Linked DNA regions of Homo sapiens: region 2 is linked to region 1. The links are contacts of gene promoters, found by promoter capture Hi-C in blood cells and fetal thymus (Javierre and others, 2016). All regions are on one chromosome and are shown on one strand. The core of a region is centred on a gene start or on the middle of the fragment in contact, and the rest is flanking DNA. Distances in the headings are between cores, read along the strand shown. Region 1 holds the start of MOB3C (MOB kinase activator 3C). Region 2 overlaps NSUN4 (NOP2/Sun RNA methyltransferase 4).

Region 1 (7,201 bases), core at 1,583-4,082:
AGAGGGCAGAACCATCCCAAGGCCACACAGCTAAATTACGGTAAAGCCAGGACACTGTTCTCCAAGGTCTGGGTCTTTTCAGCCCCAGCAGAGCCTCCTAGAAGAACTAGTCTCTCTAACCAAGACTGAGAAGGGCAGGAAGAGGGTACAGGTAGTTGAGAGATCTGGGCTCTCTCGCTTCCCCCAACCCTTCCACCTGCCTCCCATCCCACAGACACCCAGGGACTCTGAGGATGAGCTGGGAATTTCTGATGTTCCTTCAAAATGGATCATCTCTATTTCCCACAGTGTAAGGTTCTGTGCTGTTCACTCTTCACCAGAAAAACTCCTGCCTATCCTGTAAAACCCAGCTCAGAGGTCCAGAAAATGACCCTGCACAAAGCCTCTGCAGAGGAAGTCACATCAAATTCTGAAGAATCTTCCAGACCATGATCTCTGACCACAATGCAATATAATTAGAACTCAACAAGAAAAACATAAACCTCCCATAGGCTGAGAAACTGAAAAACATACTTTGAAATCATTCAAGAGTTAAAGAGGAAATTACACTGAAATTTATGAACTATTTAGAACTGAATGATAAGGAAAACACAAGCAGTTTCCAAATCATTTCCCCTATGAAGTCAGCCCTGACCCCACATGGCTCCTCAGATGGCTCTCCACCCTCTACCCATTTCTACGCCCTAGGAGGCTGACGTCTATGGGCTGCAGCAACAGGTTCCCTTGTTCTTAGCTTCTGGGAGGATTCAGCTAGTGGGGGAAACCTGGCCAGAGATCAGACGGAGGGAGAGAGGGAGGAGAGTGAGGCCTCTTACTTGCCCCCTGTCCTTCCCTGTATGATTGCTGTGAGCTGGGTATGCCCCTCCACCTTAGGCCACAGCAGCGCCCTCCTCATAGCTCCCACTTTCACCATTCCTTCCCCACACTCCTGCAGCCTGGGGTTGACAGCCTCTGCTCTTGTGAGCCCTTTGGTGATACACTGTGTGGTTTCCCTACACCTTGACCATACCTGTAAATAATGTCTTCATTAAACATACCCATTCTGGGTGTTCCATGTGCTTCCTGCAAATACCCCGACTCTTACAAAGTCCGTCAGTCCACAACCACATTCTCACTTCTGGGTGACTGAGCTGTGACCTTGTGTATCTCTGTGTGTTGTCCCCTTTACTGACCTGTCAGCACCTGAGGTCGGCAACCAGGTCAGCTTTATCACCCAGTCCCCTGATCTGATATGAGTGGAGAGTTATACTCAATAAAAGATATTGATTAGGATATCAAATAAATAAAGAAGCATAGTTTAATTTGCTCCATAAGCAAGTGTTTGTTTATAGGGGATTCAGGGCAGAGAGTTAAGAGTCAGACATAAAAATACAGAGAACTTTAGACTGGGGCAAAAATTGGTGCTCAACAAAAGAACATACCCACAGTTCTATGAGCTGGGATTCTTTCTTTACTTTTATTTTAGGTTCAAGGGTACATGTGTAGGTTTGTTATATAAGTAAACTCTGTGTCATGGGGATTTGGTGTACAGATAATTTCATCACCGAGGTAAGCAGCATAGTACCTGATGGGTATTTTTGTCTCATCCTCCCTCCTCCCGCCCTCCACTCCCAAGCAGGCCCCAGTGTCTGCTGTTCCCCTCCTAGTATCTATGTATTCTCATTGTTTAGCTCCTACTTGTAAGTGAGAATATGCAGTATTTGGTTTTCTATTCCTGTGTTAGTCTGCTTAGGATAATGGCCTCCAGCTCCAGCCCATGTTGCTGCAAAGGATATGATCTGGGTTAAGGATCTAGCGTGTTCTCATGTCATCCAGCAACAGAAGGTCCAGACACAAGGGAGGTCCAGTGTGCCATGGTAAATGCCCACCTCTGGCCTCCAGCTCTCCCCTACCCGCATCTACTCACCTCCCACCCCTCCAGAGTGGCTTCTATGGCTAAGCTCTCTGCTTTGGGCTTCCTACCCTAGAAAGCCTCCAATCTTCCCTCCCATCCCAGACAGAGCAGCCAACTGGTCCCTGGGCCTGGGGGCCACGGTGTGCATTGAATGCTGGTGGGATATCTGTCTGTCCTCGAAGGAACCCAGGTGGTAGGGAGAGCAGATCAGATCTTGAGTGGTTTGGATTTGTCAGAAGGAAGGAGGGAGAGAAGGTATTCTAAAATGGAACAGCTGGGATAAGGGTCTGGAGATAAGAAATGGGGTGACTCTGGGTAAGGAGCAAGGAGAATCAGCCCAACCTGAGCCAGGCCCCCTCCCTGGTGAGGAGATGAAGTTTGTGATTTGAGCGCTCTTCTGGGGCTTGTCCCTCAGGGGTGAAGGACTCAGCTCATGATTCCCAAGGCGTTCATTTATTCCTTCACTCACCCATTCATTCATTCATCAAGTGGGTTTTGAGTTCCTGCTATGTGCCAGGAGCTGAGGATATGGGAGTGGATAGGACGGTCCCGATCCCTTATTGGGTCCCGGGACAAGTGTGACGCAGACGATTCTAGGAGGGCAAAGAAACCACCCTTATCTAGCAGCTCTTGTTTCTGCTCCAGAAGAAGCCGAGCGTTTTCCCATTTTACTGTCTGGGAACTTGAGGCTGCCTCCTTGGTGGAGGTCCAAGGAAGCACCGAGAGGGCGGGCAGCTCAGTTAGTCCTTTGTCCAAGGGGAAGCTGGGAGCCCCATATGGACTTTCCGGGAAGGTGGGGGCGAGTGCGTCTGTGTACTGGAGTGGAGGGGAGTCCCCTTTCTCCGCCCCTCCCCGCCCCGTGGCCGCGGCGTGGCGGGGCCGGGGCGGAGCTGGCGTCGCCCGGGGCAGGAGGGCAGCCGCGGCCGGCAGGACAGGCAGACGGACAGGCTGACAGGAGAGAGAACAGGCACTGCGGGACCTGCAGGAGAAAGGCGATCCTGTGGCTGGGAATGTGACCCCACGGCCAGAAGAGGACCCGTGAGTGTGCGCCGTGCCCCTGCGGCCTCGCCGCGCACCCCGCCCGCCTGGCTTCCACTTTCATTTCTTCGGCCGTCCTGGCGTGGCACAGTCCGGAGGAGAGTCCCGCCCGAAGGCAGGCTGGCCGCTGTCCTGAGGCTGGCGTCCGAGGCTCAGAGCTTCGAAAGTTGCGGGGGGGATTGTCGGGGTGGGGGAGTACGGGGCAGAGGGGAGGGGTTGGGGGGCGTGTTTTCGGGGAGCGGAAATGTCAGGCGGGCTCCTCTGGGTCCTACGACCTTCCTGGCCCTGGGAGCTGGTTTGAGGTTGCAGGGAAGCCGGGGGTGGGCGTGGGTGGCTGCGCGCCGCGAGGAGAGCGTGGAGTCTTCGCCTCTACTTTTTCTCTTCGACCTCTGTCCTAGAGAGAGTCCCAGGATGGATTCTGGGTTCAAACTGGGGCCATCCTCTGGCCCAGATCCTGGGCCAGGCCCAAGGAGTGGTAGATGTAGCCTAGCAGGGGGCTAAATATCAGAAACAGGTAGGGTCAGCCTGCTGTCTTCATTTGAGAAGCCCAGATCCGCACCCAGGGAACGAGCAAGGCACTGCCACTCCAGGAGTGAAAGGATAGCCATCACTGGGAAATGGGGGCTAGGACGGGGAACGGCAGTGGTTCAGGGAGAGACAGAGGTTCTGTGACAGATAGAAACTCAGTGAGGGCATGGGGGTGGGGAGTGAAGGGAGTTAACCCTGTGGCTAGAAGAGCACCTGCCCTGCACCCACCCCCTGAGCTTACATTTTCCTGGAAAGAGACCCAGGCCTTGAAGTTCCACAGGAGTAAGGTGGAACTCTAGCTCACTGGTCAGGACACCCCAGTTGCTGTGCGGAGTCAGTGTGTTGGGGACAGGAAGCAGGTTGGGCTGTTTGGTGGAGAAGATGCTTCCACTGTCCCTCCACTCCCCTCCTCTTCTCTGTCTCCACCAGACCATTGATGAGCCAGTGCAGGAAAATGGTCTTTTACTCTTGGTCATGAGCTGAGCCCCACCTTATCCCAGTTCCCAGTTCTGCTTGTAACTTGCTATGTGGACACAGGCTCCTCAAGTCCTCTTTTTAGGCCTCAGTTTCCTCATCTGGGCCTCAGTTTCCCCATCTGTACAAGTGAGTTGGGCCAGCTGATCTATCAGGGCTATTTTAACTCTAAGATTCTAGTCTAAGCTTTCCTTAAAGCCTGAACACTGACTTTGTGCCAGGCCTTGTCCTAAGCTGGGGGTGGGTTGGGGATGGAGTGGAGACTGCAATGACCAAAAGCAGCCTCTACCCAAGGAGAAGGAGATCTGAGTTCAGGAGAGGAGGCTGTGGGAGGAGGTAGCAGCCAATCTGAGGATGTGTGGTCAGGCAGGTGGAGGGATAAGAAAACATGCAGAGGCAAAAGAGTGGGGGCGTGTTCAGGAATCAGGAAGAAGCCCAGGGTGGTTGGTGTGGGGAGGTGGGAAGTGGGGCAGGAAAGGTAGGACAAGGTGCTGAATGCCAGGGTGGGGGCCTATTTCTAACTGTCATAAAGGGGGCCATGCAATGTGGGGAGCCCAGGAGCCCCGCCTAATTGCAGTGTGAGGGATTTTGGAAGCACTTGCCCCAAGCAGAGTTTAAAATGGAGATGGCAAATGAAGCGCAGAAATCTCTTTGCTCTGGAAACTGGGGTCCCACCCTGGGGACTTCTTTGGGTGAGAAGTCGAAGAGTCGGGATGGATGAGATGACCTTTCACATCTGTGAGTTTTTTTCAAGAGAACAAGTTCCTGCTGAATGGCCTGTTTCTACTCTCCAAGCTGCTCTCATTTTACCAGACTGCCCCCATCCTGGCCTGCCTTTGTGGGTTCAAGGAAGGACCTTTGTCTCAAACAGCTCCCCAGCTAGTTTGACTTCTTGCCAGAAGTAATACCCCTCCCCGAAATATGTGCCATCCCTTTGCTTTTACCCAGGTGTCACCTGGTTCCCACCCTCCCTTCCCCAATCCTGTCCCAGGGTTACCAGAGATGTGAGAAAGGACAGTGCTCCAGCGTCAGAGGTCAAGCCCAGGCTTTGGCCATAAGCAAGCCTCAGGGTAGGGCTAAAGGCTAGAGTCAGGGCTCACACTTGCCAGAGCCCAGGTCAGAGGTCAGCCAGGAACCAGAATGCAATTCTTAGCTTATACTCAGCCTTAGTGCTCAGTCTAGGGGCAGGGGCAGTGTGCTTAGTGGGTGGCTAAATTCTAGTTTTGGTAGGTACATGGGTCTGCATTTCCCAGTAGCTCACACACTCACAGTTGAGATGAGATGACTCAGGTCTTAGAAACCTAGCTATAGCAGAGTGACCCAGGACCTGGATGGGCTAAATCCATGGTGATACAGGGGTCACCCAGTAAGCCAGTGGTAGAGCTGGGACTAGAACCCAGGACTCCTGCCTCTGAGCCTAGGGCCCTGATCACTGTCTCCCAAAATTTGTTCTGAATCTGGGATCCTTAAATTCTAGGAGGCAAAGTAAATTTGCCTGAGCTCTAGATGGGCCCTCCTGGGTGCATCTGACTATACTCTTCTACCTCCCAGTGCCAGGCACATAGTAGTTGCTAGAGGAATGTCTACTGAGTGTCAGGTGCAACGGGAGGAGCCAGTGGCTTGTTCAGATTTGGGGCTGGAGGAGGCTGGCTTGAGGGGAAGGATCTCCAGCTGTTGTCAGAGGAAGCGACGCCCTCATTGGCCTGCCGCCCTCCCCCTCCTCCAGTGCTTGCAGCCACACTCAGAAGCCGCCCAGCTGGCAGCGGGAGGGCCCTTTCCTCTTTCAGGGTGAAAAAAAAGGAAAGGACATTTTTGGTAGAAAAGTTCCCTGCTGCTCCCTGGGAATCCCCGGTGGCCGGATGGACTACGGGATATCCCAGAGGAAGCCGAAAGCCACCCCCGACCCCCCTCCACCCTGCCCCCAGCACAATGCTGCGAGGCTCTCCCACGTTGCACCAGCTGGCCAAGGGGGCTCCCAGAGGTCATCTCGTCCAAGCCCCTGTCTGCTGGTGGGCCTGCAGGGAGCCTCTGCGACCTCTCTCGTGACCAACAGCAAGTCTGAGGGGCACCTGTTTAGAGCCCAGGCCCAGCTCTGCAATGAAAGCAGAAAAGAGACAAAGCAAGATGGGAGGACTGTGGGGGCTTAGCAAGGGGGACTAACATAGCCTGGAAAGAGGGCGGGGCACTGGACCTAGGGGCTGAGGACTTAGATTCCAGGCAGAGGATGCAGAGGTTGAGCAAAGGCTGAGAGGTGACAGGGAAATGATGAATTGGGAAGTCAGAGCCCAGATGATAAGGCCTTGACCGCCAGCTCCCCTATGCCCTTGTCCCTGGCAGGGTATCCTCAGGTCCGAGCCCCTGGACAGCAGCCCCAGGCCCAGCTGGCCATGGCCCTGTGCCTGAAGCAGGTGTTCGCCAAGGACAAGACGTTCCGGCCGCGGAAGCGCTTTGAGCCGGGCACACAGCGCTTTGAGCTGTACAAGAAGGCACAGGCCTCTCTCAAGTCGGGCCTGGACCTGCGCAGTGTGGTGAGGCTACCACCCGGGGAGAACATCGACGACTGGATCGCCGTGCACGTGGTGGACTTCTTCAACCGCATCAACCTCATCTACGGCACTATGGCGGAGCGCTGCAGTGAGACCAGCTGCCCGGTCATGGCCGGCGGGCCCCGCTACGAGTACCGCTGGCAGGACGAGCGCCAGTACCGGCGGCCCGCCAAGCTCTCTGCGCCGCGCTATATGGCATTGCTCATGGACTGGATCGAAGGCCTCATCAACGACGAAGAGGTCTTTCCCACGCGTGTTGGTGAGTGTCACCTGGCGGGGAGGGAGCCACTGGGAGCCCATTCCACAGATGAGGATTTAGTTTGATATAGACACTCTGCAGGGTTGGGGGTTGATTTTCATCCCCATTTTGTGGAAGAGGAAAGCGAGGTTGAAACAGGTTAAGTGCCTTGCTCAAGGTCAAGCATTTGCTAGGACTTCCTGACTCCCAATTTGGGGCTTTTCTTTCTTTTCTTTTTCTTTCTTTCTTTCTTTTTTTTTTTTTTTCTTTTCTGAGACAGAGTTTCGGTCTTTCACCCAGTGGTGAGATCTCAGCTTACTGCAACCTCTGCCCCCCGGGTTCAAGCGATTCTCCTGCCTCAGCCTTCTGAGTAGCTGGGATTATAGGCACCCACCACCACGCCTGGCTAATTTTTGTATTTTTAGTAGAGACAGGGTTTCACCACATTGGCCAGGCTGATCTCGAACACCTGACCTCAGGTGA
Region 2 (7,201 bases), core at 2,550-5,049, 250 kb after region 1:
AAAAAAAAAAAAAAAATCAAGGTGGCAATGTTATGCTGGTGGTTAAGGACAGAGCCTCTCCTACCACAGTGCCACTGACTTGCTATGTGACCCTGGGCAAGTCACTTAACTCTAATATGCCTCAGTTTTCTTCTGTTAAAATGGGGATAATAATACTGAGCTACCTCAAAGGGCAGTTTTGAGGCATGACTAATGCTTTTTATAAAGCATTTTGGGATCCTTCAGCAAAGGAATTCTCAAGACCTGAGTATTTTTTATAATAACAATGTCCACCATGAACTTGATCTGTCTGTGTGTCCCGGAAGCTATCATTAGTCTATATGGTTCTCTAAGAGACTGAATGAATCCATTGGAGAAGTGGTGGATAACTAGCCGGAGAAAATTTGAGAATGCTTAAACTCATTCCCATGGAAACATACACAGGACACCTTTTCTTTGATGAGGTGGGATTTTTCCCTTTTTATGTGGCATACTAGTAATTTGTGACCTAAGAATAATTTTGGAATAATTTCTATTAATATCAACTCTGAAGTTAGTTATACTGATCTGAGATTGTGTTTGTTCATAACAAAAGTGAAATGAATCTGGAAAAAAAAAAAAAAAAAAAGACAGCACCTCTGTGCACATTTCATTGGCTAAAGCAAGTCACGTGGCTATGCCTACCTGCAGAGGGAGTGGGGAAGGCAAGCCTACTACATGTCCAAGAGAAGGAGTAACTAAGTACTCCTTTGTGAGAAGTCCTAAGGCTTATCATACCCACAAATTGACTTCATGACCACTAATGATTCATGGTTGTGAGCGATAATTCAGAAAACACTCATTGAAAGGTTTCGTATGCTAACCTACAGTCTGGCTCACTACAACTTCCTTCTACTGGTCCCAGCTCTGCCCCTGGGGATACTCAAAACACATCTGCTTCCCCTGCCTCAGAACAGTCCTAGTTGGAGACAACATCTCTCTTCCCTAAGTCTGTCTTTCTCCTGGCGAAATACTCCCAATTCCCCCAGTTCTCCCCAGAATGAGACTTTCAGTTTCCTCTCCATCCCAGTCACCCTCTTCAGCCAGTACACCTCCTAAAGTGTCACCTCAAAATATGGTCTGAACAGCTTGGAGCTCAAAAGTTCCCATTTACTCAGAGAGATAAGGCTGAGTAAACTTAAGGACAGGACTGACTTTCAGAAGCAATTTCTGTAGAGCCAGTTATTTAACTTCCTCATTCAGTAAATTCTGATAATCATATTCCCACTGGGGGGCCCATGAAATCTGATCAGATCATTTTCCACCTTAAAACTCCGACAATGGCTTCCAGTTACTCAGGATGGAATACCTATTCCTTCAAGTGGCCCAGAAAGCCCTGTTGTAGGTTGGCTTCTGCCTGCTTCTCCAGCCTTGTGTTTCACAACCATTCCTTTCTCCTTACACTGCAGGATACTGGACCTCTTTCAGAATCTAGAATGTCCTCTTTCCTGACTTCACATTCACACGAACTGTTCCCTCTGCTAGGGCACTCCCAACATCCTCCTCTGCCTCACTAATTTAACTCCTCTTTATCTTCAGCTCTGTTTAAACATCTCTTCCTCCAGGCGAGGTTAGGTCCCTCAGGTATATGCACTTTACATTTCTCTCAGTACTTGGCTCACTCATAATTTACTTATAACTAATTGTAATTGCTTGTAATTTACTTGTAATTACTTGTCTATCTTGCCCACTAGATTGTACATCCCATGAGAACAAGGACTTTTTTCTGCTCTGTTCACCACTCTAGCGTCTACAGTTAAGCCTAGCACATAGGAGGTACTCAAATATATACTAACTACCAAATAGGTACTAAGCATGTTGGTACTTGGGGGTTAGGGATGCAAAAATAAATACCAGCTTACTGTCCCTAACAATTCCTAGTTTGGAGATGGGTAAAGAAGAAAAAGTGGCCATGGAAAGTGCTATATTCATTGTATTATAGAGAAGGTTGGGGAGCACAGAAGAGGATCAACCCAGCTTTAGAAGGATTAGAGAAAGCTTCCAGAGGGGTGGACATTTGAGCTAGCAAGAAAGCACAAGGGAAAAGGCATTTAGACAGAGGAGACAATTTGTCCTGACCCAGAAGCATTGGGGTATGCTATGCATGGATAGACAAAGAATTTGTGCAAAAGGGGAGCAGCAAGGCATGACAGACACAGATAAAACAGCATCAACAACCAGGGATCAGGGCAAAAGTCTGGACTTGATCCTGCTGGCAATGGAGAGAGAACAAAGGATCTTTCTGTAAAAATGGGTTCTCCCTATGTTGCTCAGGCTGGTCTCAAACTTCTGGCTTCAAGCGACCCTCCTGCCTTGGCCTCCAAAAGTGCCGGGATTACAGGCATGAACCACCATGCCCAGCCTAAAGAACAAAGAATTATAAGCAGATGAATGACACTCAGATTTGTGTTACTTACTAACACAAATGACATATGTTAAAATTTTATTTAAATTTACTTAACCATTTCCAAAACTTACTGGCTTAAAACAACCACTACTTTATTTGTTCATGATTCTGGAGGTCAGCGATTTAGGTTGGTCTTGGCTGGGGTCACTCATGCTGTTTGGGTCACCTAACCGTTTAACTGAGCTTAGGAGGTCTAAGACAGCTTCCAGCACATGTCTCCAGCAGATTGGTCCAGGCTTCTTCACAGAGCCGCAGAAGAGCTCCAAAATGAGCGTGGAAGTTGCGAGGCTTCTTGAGGCCTACATGCAGAAGTTGCACAGCATCCCTTCCACCAGACTTTACTGGTCAAAACAAATCATAAGATCAGCCCAGATTCAAGAGGTGGGGAAACAGACTCCATCTCTTAATGACAGAAGCAGCAAAGTCACATTGTACTGGGACAGGATGGGAGGAATTATTGTGATCGGCGATCACACAACAGATAAGGGGTGGCATGAGAGGATGGGGGAGAATGGAAGAATTTAGGGCTGATTGGAGTAATAGAAATGAGTTTTGAGGCTACTGCCTTTGATCAGTGAGAAATGATAAGGCCCTACCTAAGGTAGGAATGCTAGGAAGGAGAGAAATATAAGCGACATTTCAAGAAAGGAATTTCAGATTGTGGCTGGGCGCAGTGGCTCATGCCTGTAATCCTAGCACTTTGGGAGGCCAAGGCAGGCTGATCACTTGAGCTCAAGAGTTCAAGACCAGCCTGGGCAACATGGCGAAACCCCATCTCTACTAAAAATACAGAAATTAGCCAGGCGCGGTGGCATGTGCCTGTAGTCCCAGCTACTCAGTAGGCTGAGGCAGGAGGATCACTTGAGCCTGGGAGGCGGAGGTTGCAGTGAGCCGAGATCACACCACGGCACTCCACCCTGGTGAGAGCCAGACCCTGTCTTAAAAAAAAAAAAAAAAAAAAAAGAAATTTCAGATTGTAACTTTTTGAGTTACTTAAGCAATCTAAGCTTGTTTCCTTCTCTATAAAATGGGACTAAAAAGAGTATATCAGCTGACTCTGGATTTGCTGCCTATGAGTTAGCCTTACTCTGCAAGGAGCAGTACTGTTCAATAAAAGATTGCTGTCTAACACCACTAGCTTGCCCTTGAATTCTTTCCTGGCTTTCTCCCAGGCTAAGCCCCAGTTTTGAGGCTTGCCTGCCCTGCAATAAAAACACACCATAAAAATAGTGCAAAGAAAAGCCACAAAATGGATGAAAATGTTCAAATTAACGAATAACTCTTTCAAAGTTTTATAATAAATAGGCAACAACAAAAAAGAGCATATCCCAGGGTTTCTGTGAAAGTAAGAAACAATGATGTAAGTAAAACAATGCTTTTTTCACATGGGCCTGGCTCAGGTACGTTCGATATACAGTAGTGATTACTGTCACTGCATCAAGGATAGCTGCAGTTTCTGGCATGGGCAGCAGGGTAAAGGGTGGTGTTAAGTTTGGAGATGAAGAATGCAGATGGGAAGAAGGGCAGATTGGCAGGGGTGAGAGTGGTGATTTGAGTTGTTACTGGGGTCTCTGCTTGACCCCCTTGCCTTCCACTAAAGACCCTCAAATCTGAGATCTTCTAATCCAAAGGTTCTTAACTTGGGGGAGATAGGCCTTAGGAAGTACCAAAGCCCCTGAAATTATATGTAAAATGCTATGGTGTTTTTTGTCTTTATTTTTCTGAGAACGGCCAAAGCTTTTACCAGTCTCTCAAACAGATTTGTGACTCCTAAAAGGTGAAAACCATAGATCCAAGCTATCAATGTATATTGACCCATAACTGCCCCAATACCTGACCCTCTGCTGTGGTTCAACTGTTGCAAATCACAAGGAAAGAGGAGCTCATGAACAAGACTGAGGCAATACTGCTAAGCTTCCAGGTCTCTCAATATGATCCCTCCTACATTAAGCCATATTTTGCATTATTATTCTCTGTGGGCTTGGTTCTCTACCCACTTTTTTTTTTTTTTTTTTTTTTTTTGTATTTTTAGTAGAGATGGGGTTTCACCATGTTGGCCAGCCTGGTCTCGAACTCCTGACCTCAGGTGATCCACCTGCCTTGGCCTCCCAAAGTACTGGGATTACAGGCATGAGCCACCATGCCACCATGCCCAGCCAACCCCCTTCTCTTTTTTTAGGGAGACCTCAGATGTACAAAATTGAATTAATCATAATCTTTGTTTATAACATACTTTTATCACTTTTGTCATGAATAACAAATTTTTATGTATAACTTTTTATTAACTTAGCTGCTTTTAATAATTCAATAAGCACCAAACATAAAAGCTAGAGCCTTAACAATAATCTAACTTTATGTTCCCTCCAGCCCCATCCTATCCCCCTACCTCTAAGAACCATTATACTGAATTCCATAGTGAGAACCATTCTTTCCTTCTTACATGGTTTTACTGCATACATGTTCTTTTTACATGTTTTTAAATTCTTAATTGTATTTAATTTTATAGCATCACTACTCATTAGAGAAATGCAAATTAGGACCACAACGAGGTATCAAGATACATCCACTAGAATGAAGTTTTTATTTATTATTTATTTTTGAGACAGAGTCTCCCTCTGTTGCCCAGGCTGGAGTACAGTGGTGCAATCCCAGCTCACTGCAACCTCTACCTCCTGGGTGCAAGTGATTCTCATGCCTTAGTCTCCCAAGTAGCTGGAATCACAGGTATGTGCCACCACACCCGGCTAATTTTTGCATTTTTAGTACAGACGGGGTTTTCCCATGTTAGCCAGGCTGGTCTTGAACTCCTGACCTTAAGTGATCCGCCCGCCTCGGCCTCCCAAAGTACTGGGATTACAGACATAAGCCACACTGCCCGGCCCACTACAATAAAGTTTAACGTTGATAATCCTAAGTGTTAGTACTAAGATGTGGAGCAAATGGACCTCTCATACATTGCTGATGGCCGTGCAAAATGGTAGATCCACTTTGGAAAACAGTATGGTGGTACCTTATAAAGTTAAACATACATTTACCATATGACCTAGCAATTCTACCCCTAAGTATTTACTCAGAAGAAAACATGGGCTGGGCACAGTGGTTCACACCTGTAATCCTAGCACTTTGGGAGGCCGAGGTAGGTGGATCATCTGAGGTCAGGAGTTCGAGACCAGCCTGGCCAACATGGCGAAACCCCGTTTCTACTAAAAATACAAAGAAATTAACCAGGCATGGTGGTGGGTGCCTGTAATCCCAGCTACTCAGGAAGCTGCAGCAGAAGAATCGCTTGAACCTGGGAGGCGGGGGTTGCAGTGAGCTGAGATTGCACCATTGCACTCCAGCCTGGGCAAAAGAGTGAGACTCCATCTCAAAAAATAAAAAAAGAAAAGAAAACACGTACTCACAAAATTATATGCCCAAAAGGTATTGGCAGCATTACTAATAATAGCCCCAAACTGGAAGCAACTCAAATGTCCATCAACTGGTGAACAGATAAACAACATGGTGGTATGTCTGCACCATGGAATACAATTCAGCAATAAAAAGGAACAAAACATTAATACTCACAACAAACTGAATCTCAAAAACATTACACTAAGTCAAAGAAGTCAAACACCAAAGACTACATATTGTATGATTCCATGTATATATGCAAAAATTTTCCAAGACCAAATATTTGAAAGGATTATCCAGGCTTCACAGAGCATAATCACTTAAGATTTTTATTTAAAGGCAAAGGATACAGGGCAGCAAGAGAAAGACTAGGTAGGTAAACATCAGGAATCTCAGAATTCCCAAATACAAGCTCCCCATGGTCCTTATGCACATGTGGACTGCACTGCAAAGTGCCTTTGGATTGAATCATCATGATCTATGTGAGGCATCCATCCTGGTTTTGGAAGAGCTCAAATCAGAAGTTCCCAGCAGGGCTTTTATGTTGCTCTGGCCATGTAATCAAGCCAGACATACGTAACTGGTTAGACCAGCTGCAAATAATCAATAAAAGGAGTGACCAGTGGAGCTTCAGACTTTATTTATTTATTTACTTATTTATCGAAATGAAGTCTCTTGCTGTCGCCCACGCTGGAGTGCAATGGCGCTATCTTGGCTCACTGAAACCTCCACCTCCCAGGTTCAAGCAGTTCTCCCGCTCCAGCCTACTGAGTAGCTGAGATTACAGGCACCTGCCATCATGCCCTTTTGTACTTTTATAGAGATGGGGTTTCACCACGTTGGCCAGGCTGGTCTTGAACTCCTCCTGACCTCAGGTGATCCACCTGCCTCAGCCTTCCAAAGTTTTGGGATTACAGGCGTGAGCCACCGCACCTGGCCGAGCTTCAGACTTTAAACAGCACATTATAAATCCCAATGCCTTTTTTTTTTTTTTTTTTTTTGAGACAGAGTCTCACTCTGTCACCCTGGCTGGAGTGCAGTGGCACAAAACGGAGTCTCACTCTCTTGCCCAGGCTGCTCACTGCAGCCTCAAACTCCTGTGCTCAAGTGATCCTCCTGCCTCAGCCTCCTGAGTAGCTGGGACCACAGGCACATGCCAGCGCACCCAGCTAATTTTTTTTTTTTTTTTTTTGGTAAAGACCAGGTCTCACTACATTGTCCAAGCTGATCTAGAATTCCTGGGATCAAGTGATCTTCCCACCTTGGCCTCCCAAAGTGTTGAGATTACAGGCGTGAGCCACTGTGCCTAGCCTATTTTCTATTTTCTACATCTTGATGGTGACTATACTATTATATACAATTATCAAAATTTATTAAACAATA

What was found. Contacts are between HindIII fragments. The CHiCAGO score rates a contact against its expected background, and 5 or more counts as called.
Region 2: a fragment that was not itself captured here is called in contact with the fragment with the promoter of MOB3C in region 1 in 1 of 17 cell types (monocytes); the score reaches 6.5 in monocytes.

The regions. Positions count from the first base shown.
Region 1 is chr1:46,612,442-46,619,642 of GRCh38, reverse strand. MOB3C (MOB kinase activator 3C) reads left to right here and starts at 2,832. Exons shown (of 4, transcript NM_201403.3): 1 at 2,832-2,932; 2 at 6,272-6,739. The coding sequence starts at 6,322. RefSeq lists a silencer at 2,658-2,937 and enhancers at 3,338-3,407, 5,759-6,382. The HindIII fragment of the contact is 4,243 bases long and covers 1-4,122 here.
Region 2 is chr1:46,363,951-46,371,151 of GRCh38, reverse strand. It overlaps NSUN4 (NOP2/Sun RNA methyltransferase 4), which reads right to left. Exons shown (of 6, transcript NM_199044.4): 6 at 6,134-7,201. Among named protein-coding and RNA genes, the nearest start is that of NSUN4, 27 kb to the right of the region's middle. RefSeq lists a silencer at 6,249-6,449. The HindIII fragment of the contact is 730 bases long and covers 3,435-4,164 here.